4 separate regions of the Homo sapiens genome follow, and regions 1, 3 and 4 are each linked to region 2. Evidence: promoter capture Hi-C in human tissues and cell types (Jung and others, 2019). All regions are on one chromosome and are shown on one strand. Each heading gives the region's core, a stretch centred on a gene start or on the middle of the fragment in contact. The rest is flanking DNA. Distances are from core to core; before and after follow the strand shown. Region 1 overlaps LOC105375334 (a long non-coding RNA gene). Region 2 holds the start of ERV3-1 (endogenous retrovirus group 3 member 1, envelope). Region 3 overlaps ZNF92 (zinc finger protein 92). Region 4 overlaps ZNF107 (zinc finger protein 107).

The links. Contacts are between HindIII fragments. The study calls those that stand out against the background at their distance.
Region 1: a contact is called between a fragment that was not itself captured here and the fragment with the promoter of ERV3-1 in region 2, in 1 of the 25 tissues and cell types used here (lymphoblastoid cells).
Region 3: a fragment that was not itself captured here is called in contact with the fragment with the promoter of ERV3-1 in region 2 in 2 of the 25 tissues and cell types used here (heart right ventricle and mesendoderm cells).
Region 4: a contact is called between a fragment that was not itself captured here and the fragment with the promoter of ERV3-1 in region 2, in 2 of the 25 tissues and cell types used here (mesenchymal stem cells and mesendoderm cells).

Annotation. Positions count from the first base shown.
Region 1 is chr7:65,336,252-65,338,951 of GRCh38, reverse strand. It overlaps LOC105375334 (a long non-coding RNA gene), which reads right to left. Exons shown (of 6, transcript XR_927613.3): 5 at 336-420. Among named protein-coding and RNA genes, the nearest start is that of ZNF92, 36 kb to the left of the region's middle. The HindIII fragment of the contact is 7,550 bases long and covers 1-2,700 here.
Region 2 is chr7:65,005,237-65,007,936 of GRCh38, reverse strand. ERV3-1 (endogenous retrovirus group 3 member 1, envelope) reads left to right here and starts at 1,250. Exons shown (of 2, transcript NM_001007253.4): 1 at 1,250-1,396. ERV3-1-ZNF117 (ERV3-1-ZNF117 readthrough) reads left to right here and starts at 1,191. Exons shown (of 4, transcript NM_001348050.2): 1 at 1,191-1,396. RefSeq lists a silencer at 990-1,159 and an enhancer at 1,260-1,319. The HindIII fragment of the contact is 15,538 bases long and covers 1-2,700 here.
Region 3 is chr7:65,390,183-65,392,882 of GRCh38, reverse strand. All of the region lies in intron 3 of ZNF92 (zinc finger protein 92), which reads right to left. Among named protein-coding and RNA genes, the nearest start is that of ZNF92, 18 kb to the right of the region's middle. The HindIII fragment of the contact is 6,786 bases long and covers 1-2,700 here.
Region 4 is chr7:64,708,302-64,711,001 of GRCh38, reverse strand. It overlaps ZNF107 (zinc finger protein 107), which reads right to left. Exons shown (of 4, transcript NM_001282359.2): 4 at 1-2,700. The coding sequence ends at 2,346. Among named protein-coding and RNA genes, the nearest start is that of MIR6839, 31 kb to the right of the region's middle. The HindIII fragment of the contact is 5,049 bases long and covers 1-2,700 here.

The DNA of each region.
Region 1 (2,700 bases), core at 106-2,605, 330 kb before region 2:
TCCCTGAGCAAGTTCTGATGTTTTGCAGGGCTCAGAAAAAGTGGACTTAAGTTCCTAGTACTTGGTACACCATGAAGGGTTTCCAGCATCTGTGTCCTCCCTCTGCCCACTTGCAATGCATTTCATCTGAAGATAGGCTCAGAATGGGATGGAAATTTCAATGTCTCAGTGTCTTGTCAGTTGTTTCCCCTGGCTGTGTCTAGTCAGTCATCTTGGCTCCCAATTGAAACTTAGTCTTTTAACAAAACAGACAGTATTAGTCCATTCCCACAATGTTATAAAAATACTAACCAAGACTGGGTAATTTGTAAACAAAGGAGGTTTAATTGACTTACGGTTCTGCATGGCTGGGGAGGTCTCAGGAAACTTGTAATCATGGTGAAAGCAGAAGTAGGCATGTCTTACACAGCAGCAGGTGAGCTAGAGCATGGAAGAACAGGGAAAACTGCCTTATAAGACCATCAGGTCTCATGAGCATTCACTCACTATCACAGGAACAGCATGGGGGAAACCACCCCATAATCAAATCACTTCCCACAAGGTCTCTTCGTAAACACCTGGGGATTACAATTCAAGATGAGATATGAGTGGGGATGCAAAGCCTAACTATATCCTTCCACTCCTGGCCTCTCCCAAATCTCATATCTCTTTGACATTTTAAAACAAATCATGCCTTCACAACAGTTCCCCAAAGTCTTAATTTATTCCAGCATTAACCCAAAAGTCCAAGTCCAAAGTCTCATTCGAGAAAAGGAAAGTCTTTTCTGCCCAGCAGCCTGTAAAATTAAAAGCCAGTTAGTTACTTCCAAGATACAATGGAGGTACAGGCACTGGATAAATGCTCCCATTCCAAATGGGAGAAATTGGCTAAAACAAAGGGGCTACGGGCCACACTTAAGTCTGAAATCCAGTGGGGCAGTCATTAAATCTTAAAGCACTGAAATAATCTCCTTTGACTTCGTGTCTCACATCCAGGTCACACTGAGGAAAGAAGAGATGGGCTCCCACAGCCTTGGCGAGCTTCACTCCTGTGGTTTCGCAGGGTACAGCCCTTGCCCCCTGGCTACTTTCACAGGCTGGCATTAAGTGTCTTTGGCTTTTTGAGGTGCGTGGTGCAAGCTGTTGGTGGATCTAGCATTCTAGGGTCTGGAGGATGGTGACCCTCTTTTCACAGCTCCACTAGGCAGTACTCCAGTGCTGACTCTGCATGAGGGCTCCAACCCCAAACTTCCCTTCCACACTGCCCTAGCAGAGGTTTGCTATGAGGGGTCCACCTCTGCAGTGAACTTCTGCCTAGACAGCTAGGCATTTCCGCCATCTCGGCTCACTGCAACCTCCACCTCCTGGGTTCAAGCAATTCTCCTGCCTCAGCCTCCTGAGTAGCTGGGACTACAAGCGCCCACCACCACGCTTAGCTAATTTTTGTTTTTCTTTTTTTTTTTTTTTTTTTTGAGACGGAGTCTCGCACTGCTGCCCAGGCTGGATGGTGCAGTGGCACAATCTCAGCTCACTGCAAGCTCCACCTCCCGGGTTCACGCCATTCTCCTGCCTCAGCCTCCCGAGTAGCTGGGACTACAGGCGCTCGCCACCACATCCAGCTAATTTTTTTTGTATTTTTAGTAGAGATGGGGTTTCACAGTGTTAGCCAGGATAATCTCAATCTCCTGACCTTGTGATCCGCTTGCCTTGGCCTCCCAAAGTGCTGGGATTACAGGCGTGAGCCATTGTGCCCAGGCCAATTTTTGTATTTTTAGTGGAGACGGAGTTTCGCCAAGTTGGCCAGGCTGGTCTCGAACTCCTGACCTCAGGTGATCCGCCTGCCTCAGCCTCTCAAAGTGCTGGGAAGTTCCGATTTTAAATGAGCTCCTTGTGAATGCATAAAACTGAATGCTTTCAGAATAACCCAGGTCACATCTTGAATGCTTTGATGCTTAGAAATGTCTCCCACCAGATATCCTAAATCATCTCTCTGAAGTTCGAAGTTTCACACCATCTCTAGGGCAGGGGCAAAATACCACCAGCCTCTTTGCTAAAACATAGCAGGAGTGATCTTTACTCTAGGTCCCAATAAGTTCCTCATCTCCATCTGAGACCACCTCAGCCTGGACTTCATTGTTTACATCACTATCAGCATTTTGGTCAAAATCATTCAACAAGTCTCTAGGAAGCTCCAAACTGTCCCACATCTTCCTGTCTTCTTCTGAGCTCTCCAAATTCCTACAACCTCTGCCCACTACCCAGTTCCATAGTCATCTCAACATTTTCAAGTATCCTTATAGCAGTACCCTACTCTATGCAGTACCAATTTCCTGTATTAGTTCATTTTCACACTGCTATAAAGATACTACCTGAGGCCAGGCACAGTAGCTCATGCCTGTAATCCCAGCACTTTGGGAGGGTCAGGCAGGTGGATCACCCGAGGTCAGAAGTTCGAGACCAGCCTGGCCAACACGACAAAACCCTGTCTCTACTAAAAATACAAAAATTAGATGGGCATGGCGGCATACACCTGTAGTCCCAGCTACTCAGGAGACTGAGGCAGGAGAATCACTTGAACCTGGGAGGCAGAGGTTGCAGTGAGCCAAGATCATGCCACTGCCCTCCATCCAGGGTGACAGAGCAAGGCCCTATCTCAAAAACAAAGCAAACAAACAAAAAACATACTACCCGAGACTGGGTAATTTTTTTTTTTCTTGAGAC
Region 2 (2,700 bases), core at 1-2,500:
TTGAACTCGTGAGCTCAAGTTATCCTCCCAGCTCAGCCTCCTGAGTAGCTGGGACCACAGGTGCACACCAACACGCCTTGCTAACTTTTATTTTTATTTTTGAGACACAGTCTCGCTCTGTCACCCAGGCTGGAGTGCAATGGTGCGTTCTTGGCTCACTGCAACCTCCACCTCCTGGGTTCAAGTGACCCTCCTGCCTCAGCCTCCCAAGTAGCTGGAATTACAGGTGCACGCCACCAGGCCCAGCTAATTTTTGTATTTTTATAGAGACAGGGTTTCACCATGTTGGCCAGGCTGGTCTTGAACTCCTGACCTCAGGTGATCCGCCCACCTCAGCCTCCCAAAGTGCTGAGATTACAGGCGTGAGCCACCGTACCCAGCCCATGGCTAATTTTTAAACTTTTTTGTAGAGATGGAGTCTCACTATGTTGCCCAGGCTGGTCTCAAGCTCCTGGCTTCAAGCAGTCCTCCCACCTCAGCCTCCCAAAGTGCTGGGATTACAGGCATGAGCCACCATGCCCAGCCGCAGAAGGGCAATTATTACACAGTGACAGTGGAAGGAACAGAGACACAGTCGGTGGATGGTGGGAAGATAAGAACATTCACTCTGAGGGCTTCTAGTAACGTTGGAGAAGTGAGCATCAGCTTAGCAGAAGGGAGGGAGGGAAGGAAGCACAGGAGGTTTGAGGAGAGAGAGAGAGGAAGTATGAAATCAGAGCTGCACTTCAATGTGGTGGCTATTGGCCATGTGTGGCTACAGGATAGCTGGAATATGGCTGGTCTGAACTGCGATGTGCTAGAAAGGTAAAATACAGGGTTAGATTTAAAGATTTAGTTCCAAGAATATATACACTACATTAATAATTACATATTGCTCCTATACTAAAATAATATTTTGGATATATTGGGTTATTAAATGGTTAGAATGAATTTCACCTGTTTCTTCTTTCTTCTTAACTACTAGAAAATTTAGAATTCACACATGGCTCACATTTTATTTCAGACGGTTGCCTTACAAGGCAAATGCCGTCTGGGGAGGGCCTGGGTCAGCTCAGGGAGGAAGCTCTGCCTGAAAAGGCTTAGGGTTCACTCTACATTCAGCCCAGCATCTGAGCACGTCTTCTGTCAATCAAGGCCTGAGAGGGTGGGGCCCTAAACATTATCCAATCAGGGACGCTGGGCTGGGACCCGTCCAATCAGGCACTCAGCTGGAGCAGACAGGACGGCTTCCGGGTTTGGTGGGGCCTTTGTCTCTGGCGGCAGCCGGAGCTTCTGGTGTAGTCTTCACTGCTCTGTGTCTTCTGCTCCTAGAGGCCCAGCTTCTGTGGCCTCGTTACCTGCAGGTATTGGGAGATCCACAGCTAAGACGCCAGGACCCACTGGAAGCCTAGAAATGGTGAGAGTGCCGGGTCCGACATCCCGAGAGAGGGGGCGGGGCTGGTTGGAACTGGTGGGAAGTGGCTGTGGCGGGACTCTGGCCTCCCCGCAGCTGGCTCCAAAATCCGCGGCCCCGAGTTCTCCTTGGCGCAGCTCGGCCCTCAGTCCCCTTCAGCCATAGGATGGCGGCCGGGCTGACAGCTCGGACCCCGGGCATCCTGTCTCCTCCCTGCGCAGTGACTGTGCCTTGTTCTGGAGTCCTCTGTGGGCAGCTCTGCCCCCACTGCCGCAGCTCTCCCCGATTGTGCAGGGACCACTGGACGGTCGTCAGGGGAGAATACTGACTCAGGATGCAGAGTTCATGAATGGGAAGAGCTTTGGTCTGCGGGGTTCCCAGTCCCCCTTTTTTTCTATTAAAAATTTGTGGAAGTCTCCGCAGAAATATTAAAGAATTTAATTAAAGAGTAATTCAAGAATTGTAGAGCACCAAGCTATGTTTTGTAGTTTGTGGTTTATGGAAGGGGCTTGAAGAAAACACTTTTATAAAGTGCATGATAAAGGAAAGCAAATTCAATAATTGGTTAGGTAAAGTTATGTAGTTTCTTAATTTGTACGATCAAGGTGGAAATTCCCTGGTCATGTAATGAGAGGTTAATTGGCAGTTTATAGTTGGTTAAGCCTGAATTTTATTTTCCCCCAATGTAATACTTTAGAAAAAAATCATTCGAGTTAGATTTTTTTGCAAGTAGCAACCCTAGGACTGGAGCCACCTCAGTCTAATTGCCTGCCACTTAATTATTTTCACACTCCACAGGGCACTGATTTTCCTCTGCATTTTTCACTTCTGTCTCAAGCAGGGTCTCAAGACTTCTCCCCATTTCCCATTCCTCCAGCCTAACTCTGGCTTGCAGTAAAATACTAAATTTCCAGTTCCTTCTGACATTCCCAAATGCCAATTTCCCCTCCCTAATTCACATTATCAACTATTTGTCCTTTAATGTACACTTTAGTGTACATTTTAGGTACCATATTTTAATTAATCATTTTTTGACAAAGCATTGGCTGGCATTTTAAAAAAGATTTGTTTTCTGTTTGTAAAGATTTCCCAAGAGAAGAAAGCAAAGAATAATCCCCTGACACTGTATTGTAAAAAATGTTCTGTGCCTCCTTTCCTTTTATTGCCTCTAGCCACAGAAACCTTATCAGAATATTTTTGGGTCAGGGTTTCCCTTTGGAAACTTTATAAGGTAATGTGTCCTCAGCCACCCTTCAGTTTTTTCCCTGGTTCTGGGTTTCAGTACTGTCTGGGGATAAATCAAGATA
Region 3 (2,700 bases), core at 8-2,507, 380 kb before region 2:
AGGGTCTCCACATGCTGTCCAAGCTGGCCTCAAACATTTGGGCTCTGGCCGGGCACGGTGGCTCACTCCTGTAATCCCAGCACTTTTGGGAGGCTGAGGTGGGTGGATCACCTGAGGTCGGGAGGTGGAGAACAGCCTGACCAACATGGAGAAACCCTGTCTCTACTAAAAATACAAAATTAGCCAGGCATGGTAGCACATGCCTGTAATCCCATCTACTCAGGAGGCTGAGGCAGGAGAATCACTTGAACTCAGGAGGCGGAGGTTACGGTGAGCTGAGATGACACCATTGTACTCCAGCCTGGGCAACAAAAGCAAAACTCCATCTCAAAAAAAAAAAAAAATGTGGGCTCAAGTGATGCTCCTGTCTTGGCCTCCCAAAATCTGAGGATTACAGATGTGAGCCACCACCATGCCTGGCAATGAAATGTAAACTTAAATAGATTTAAGATGGTAAATTTTAGGTTATGTGTTTTTACAACAATTATTTTTTAAAAGAAAAACTAAAAAAAAAAAAAATAGAATTACAAATATTTCCAAAAATTACCTTCAAATTACAAAAATGTTTCTCTTACCCAAAGGAAATTATACAATATTTATCATTAAACACATGGTAGAAAGACTATTTCCATGACTACTCACTTAGACAAAACAACCATTGAAAATCAGCTAAGAAAGAATATACACAAGATATGCCATAACCAAAATTAAAGTCATATTAATAGATAAAAACACACACATATATAATCAGACTATGATGGACATATGGCTGACTTATTTCCCAGTTAAACCCAACATTCACTTAAAGTGTACAAACAGAAGTGCAAATTGCTAAAACCGTAAAAACAAGAAACAAAAACTGATAAGAAACCTACACTAAACAAAAAACACTAATATGGAACTGTAAAACATTAAAAGAAATGTTTACTCATAAAACCTGGTTTGCAATATTGATGTACCATTAAAAAGAATTTGTCTAGATAACTGCAATATTTGAGTGTAACTGTGTACTCATGGAAGGCAAGTATTTGAATCACTGGCATGCACTGTATGGCAGTAAAATTTCAGAGAAAATGCAGTATAACCATACATAGAAGATTCTAATAAAAAACTTAATAAGTAAGCATTTTTAAAAATTGAGATAATTTTTATGTTTTAAATATATGCTATTCTTACACTAGATGAAACTGCTGCAATCCAACTATAGAAGCAAAGAATAGCCTTACGTTGCCAAATAAAGAAAAAATTTTTATTTTGCTGAATATGGTTAGTGCCTCTGATAGATAAAACAAATATTTGGGGGATACATTATGTTATTACTTAGATATAGGCTAAAAAGTGGGTGAAAATACTATTCCTTTTTGCCTGCCGCAAACTTAAATTTATAAGTAACTATTTTAGTAATTATGGAGTAAATTATCTAATTTACTTCAGGCATAACATGTAAATTCTAGCATATTGTCCCAAAGGTCTGATTCTAAAGTTACAGACAAATTTGAAATAGAAAATAGAAAGTAAAAATGTATAGGAAGAGTGACATCAGGAAGATAGGACAATAAAAGTTGCCTTATTTTGTTATCCTCCAACAGCAAGAAAATTTGTCAGCCATCCCTCATAAAAAGGCCTTTTGAGAGAGCCAGGCATCATGGCTCACACCTGTAATGAAAGCTTTATCATACATTGAGGTTGGAGATTGCTTCAGGCCAGGATTTCAAGACCAGAATGGGTTATGAAGCAAGACCCCATCTCAAAAATAAGCGCCTTTAAGAGAGCTTTGAGATCCAGGGAGGGAGTTGTGAAATGCTAAACCCAAGATTGAGGAGTGTTGTTTTTAGAAGGCAGGCCCTCATTCAGGCGGCAAACTAAAGGACTCCTGTTCTTGGCTACAGACCAGAAAATGGCCCACCAAACTTGGTCCCACTGAGAATTCTGAACTTACTCTGCAACCATCCCAAACTTCTCCCAGCCACAGTCTGGAAAAGGTCCTGCCCTTCCAGCGGCCTGGAGGAAGACAACCATTTATAGCCATGCAGGCAGGCCGGCTTGCAGACCTTGGCCTTTACTGTGGTCTCTGAAGCAGTTTAATGACTCAGTTCCAACTCTCTGAGCCACAGTTTATGGCCAGTTATATCTACACAGAAACCTACACAGTGGCCTGGGGAAATCCTCTCTGGTACTCAGTGAAAGCCACACTCATCCACATCCTGATACAAGGTCCATTATATGCAGACCCGACTACAGAAACCTGCCCTAGTGTCTGCCCGACAGAGCAAAGTCCTGGAGGATATTCAGTCTGTCTAAAAATAAAATGGAAATTACAAATACCCAAGCCCCTTGTAATAAGCCAGTAAAGGTGGACCCTAGTGTAGACCCAGCAGCCTTGTGACCAAGCTACACCCCTCTCCACTACAAACCCAGAGGGCATCCCATCACCGTGGGAACCCAACAAAAGATCTTTACCTTCTAAAACCAGTTTATAAAAACCTGAAGAGCTGTTTGCTCCTTCAAATTTACAGACACCAATGCAAAACTATATTGTGCCAATGTCAATGCTTCCATTTTAACATAGCACTGGAATTATGTGGCAAAAGAATTTAAAAAATTTAAAAAGCCATTGACATTGAAGACAGATAGGTAAAAAGTTGCTGTTTGTAGATCACATAATCTTATATAGAGAAAATCATAAACATTTAAACATGT
Region 4 (2,700 bases), core at 86-2,585, 300 kb after region 2:
CATAAAAGTACAAATAGTAAAATGATATACTACTAATTCACTTTAATTTTAACTAAGATTAAAAATGGTTTTCTCTTACTATAATGCAGAAGAATATTGCTCTGAAAACCTACTTCATGGATCACTCAATATTATAAGTTAAACACAAACAGCCTCTTCACTCAGGTTTTCATCATGCATCTTACATTTTAATGTCCTTATTCTTTCATAGAAAGTGTCATAAATAATACCGACCTAACAGAAATGATTTCTCATATCTTTGATGCATGAAAAATTAATCACATGCTTTCACATGTGAATACAATAGGAATGAAGAGCATGAATTTGAGTTGAATTACATCATTTGCTTTTCAAAAACTAATTTTTCAAGAAAAAATATAATTTGAATGTAATTATACATCTACAAAAAAATTCTACTTCTTTTAAAGTTATATACACATTATTTACCTACCAACTTTAGTTTTAAATTATTTTCTATACTCAGCATTCTGATTCTATACTCAGCAATGTCTGAAGTGTCAGTACCTTAGATATTTCTACTGTGAATTCTCTGATATTTATATAGACTTAATTTTGGATTAAATTATTTTTATATTTACTTCACTTGCAAAAATATATTTTAGTATGAGGCCTCTGGTATTTTCTAAGCTGTAGTTTTTTAAAAAATGTTTTCACAAATGCATTACATTTACAGTGCTTTTCTCCAATATAAATTTTCTGGTGTTGAACAACATTTGAGCAACTGCTTCATGGTTTTCCTCTAGTGCAAAATGGGTACAAAAGTATCTGTGATACAAGTAAAGGTACTACAACCCTCTTCGTATTTGTATTGTTTGTCCTCACAATGAATACTCTTTTTTTGTTTTGTTTTTGAGACGAAGTTTTTGCTCTTGTTGCTTTGGCTGGAGTGTAGTGGTGTGATTTCAGCTCACTGCAATCTTCGCCTCCCAGGTTTGAGCAATTCTCCTGCTTCAGCCTCCCAATTAGCTGGGATTACAGGGGCCTGCCACCACACGCAGCTAATTTTTGTAAAATTTTTAATAGAGATGGGGTTTTGCTATGTTGGCCAGGCTGGTCTCAGACTCCTGCCCTCAGGTGATCCACCCACCTTGGCCTCCCAAAGTGCTGGCATTACAGATGTGAGCCAGCACAACTGGCTCCTCTTCTTCACTTTAAAGGCTTATATTTTCTGAAAGATCTCTTGACAAAAATTGCATTTATAATGCTTTTATTACGTACTAACTCTCTAATGTTGAGTAAAATCTGAGCAGATAATAATGGCTTTTCCACATTCCTTGTATTTGTACAATCTTTCTGAAGTATAAATGCTTTCCTGTGCAATAAGGGGTGAGCATTTATTAAAAGTGTTGCCACATTTTTTACACTTCCAGGAGTTTTCTTCAGTATGGATTCTTACCTACAATCAAGTGTGACAACCATTTAAAGGCTTTGTGATATTTTTCACATTTCTAGGATTTTTCACCAGTATGATTTATGTTAGAAAGTTCGAGGTGTTGTCAAAATTATTGTCACATCATTCAGGTTTGTAAAGTTTTCAGTATTATCTTATGTTTAGTGAGGTTTGAGGATTGGTTTAAAGTATTGCCACATTATTCACATTTGCAGGGTTTCTCTCAAAGTATAAACTGTCTTATATGTAGCAAGGTGTGAGGACCAGTTAAAGGCATTGCCACGTTTTTTACATTTGTAGGGTTTCTTTCCAGTATAAATACTCTTACATGTAGTAAGAGTTGAGAATCAGTTAAAAGCTTTGCCACAGACTTCACATTTGTAGGGTTTCTTTCCAGTATGAATTTTCTTATCTACAGTTAAGGGTTAAGGAAGGTTAAAAGCTTTGCCACATTCTTCACAATTGTAGGCTTTCTCTCCAGTATGAATTTCTGTATAGTAAGGTATGAGGATTGGTTAAAAGCTTTGCCACATTCTTCACAACTATAGAGTTCCTCTCCAGTATAAATTATCTTATGTGTAGAAAGGTGTGAGGACTGATTAAAGGCATTGCCACATTCTTCTCATTTGTATGGCTTTTCTCCAGTATGAATTACCTTATGTTTAGTAAAAGTTGAGGATCAGTTAAAGGATTTGCCACATTTTTCACATTTGTAGGATTCTCTCCAGTACGAATTTTCTCAACTTTCAGTAAGGTTTGAAGATTAGTTAAAAGCTGTGCCACATTCTTTACATTGTAAGGTTTCTCACCAGTATAAAATACCTCGTGTGTGCAGAAAAAGTTGAAGACTTGTTAAAGGCTTTAACACATTCTTCACATTTGTAGTTTCTCTCCAGTATGAATTTTCCTATGTGTAGTAAGCTTGTAGGATCAATTAAGTTTTGCCATACTCACATTTGTAGGGTTTCTCTCCAGTATGAATTTTCTTATGTGTAGTAAGATTTGAGGATAGGTTGAAAGCTCTGCCATAATCTCCACATTTGTAGGGTTTCTCTCCAGTATGAATTATCTTATGTATATTAAGAGATGAGAACTGGTTAAAGGATTTGCCACATTCTTCACATTTGTAGGGTTTCTCTGAAGTATGAATTTTCTTATGTGTAGTAAGGTTTGAGGATTGGTTAAAAGCTTTGCCACATTCTTCACATTTATAGGGTTTCTCTCCAGTATGAATTTTCTTATGTGCAGTAAGGGTTGAGGATAGGTTAAAAGCTTTGCCACATTCTTTA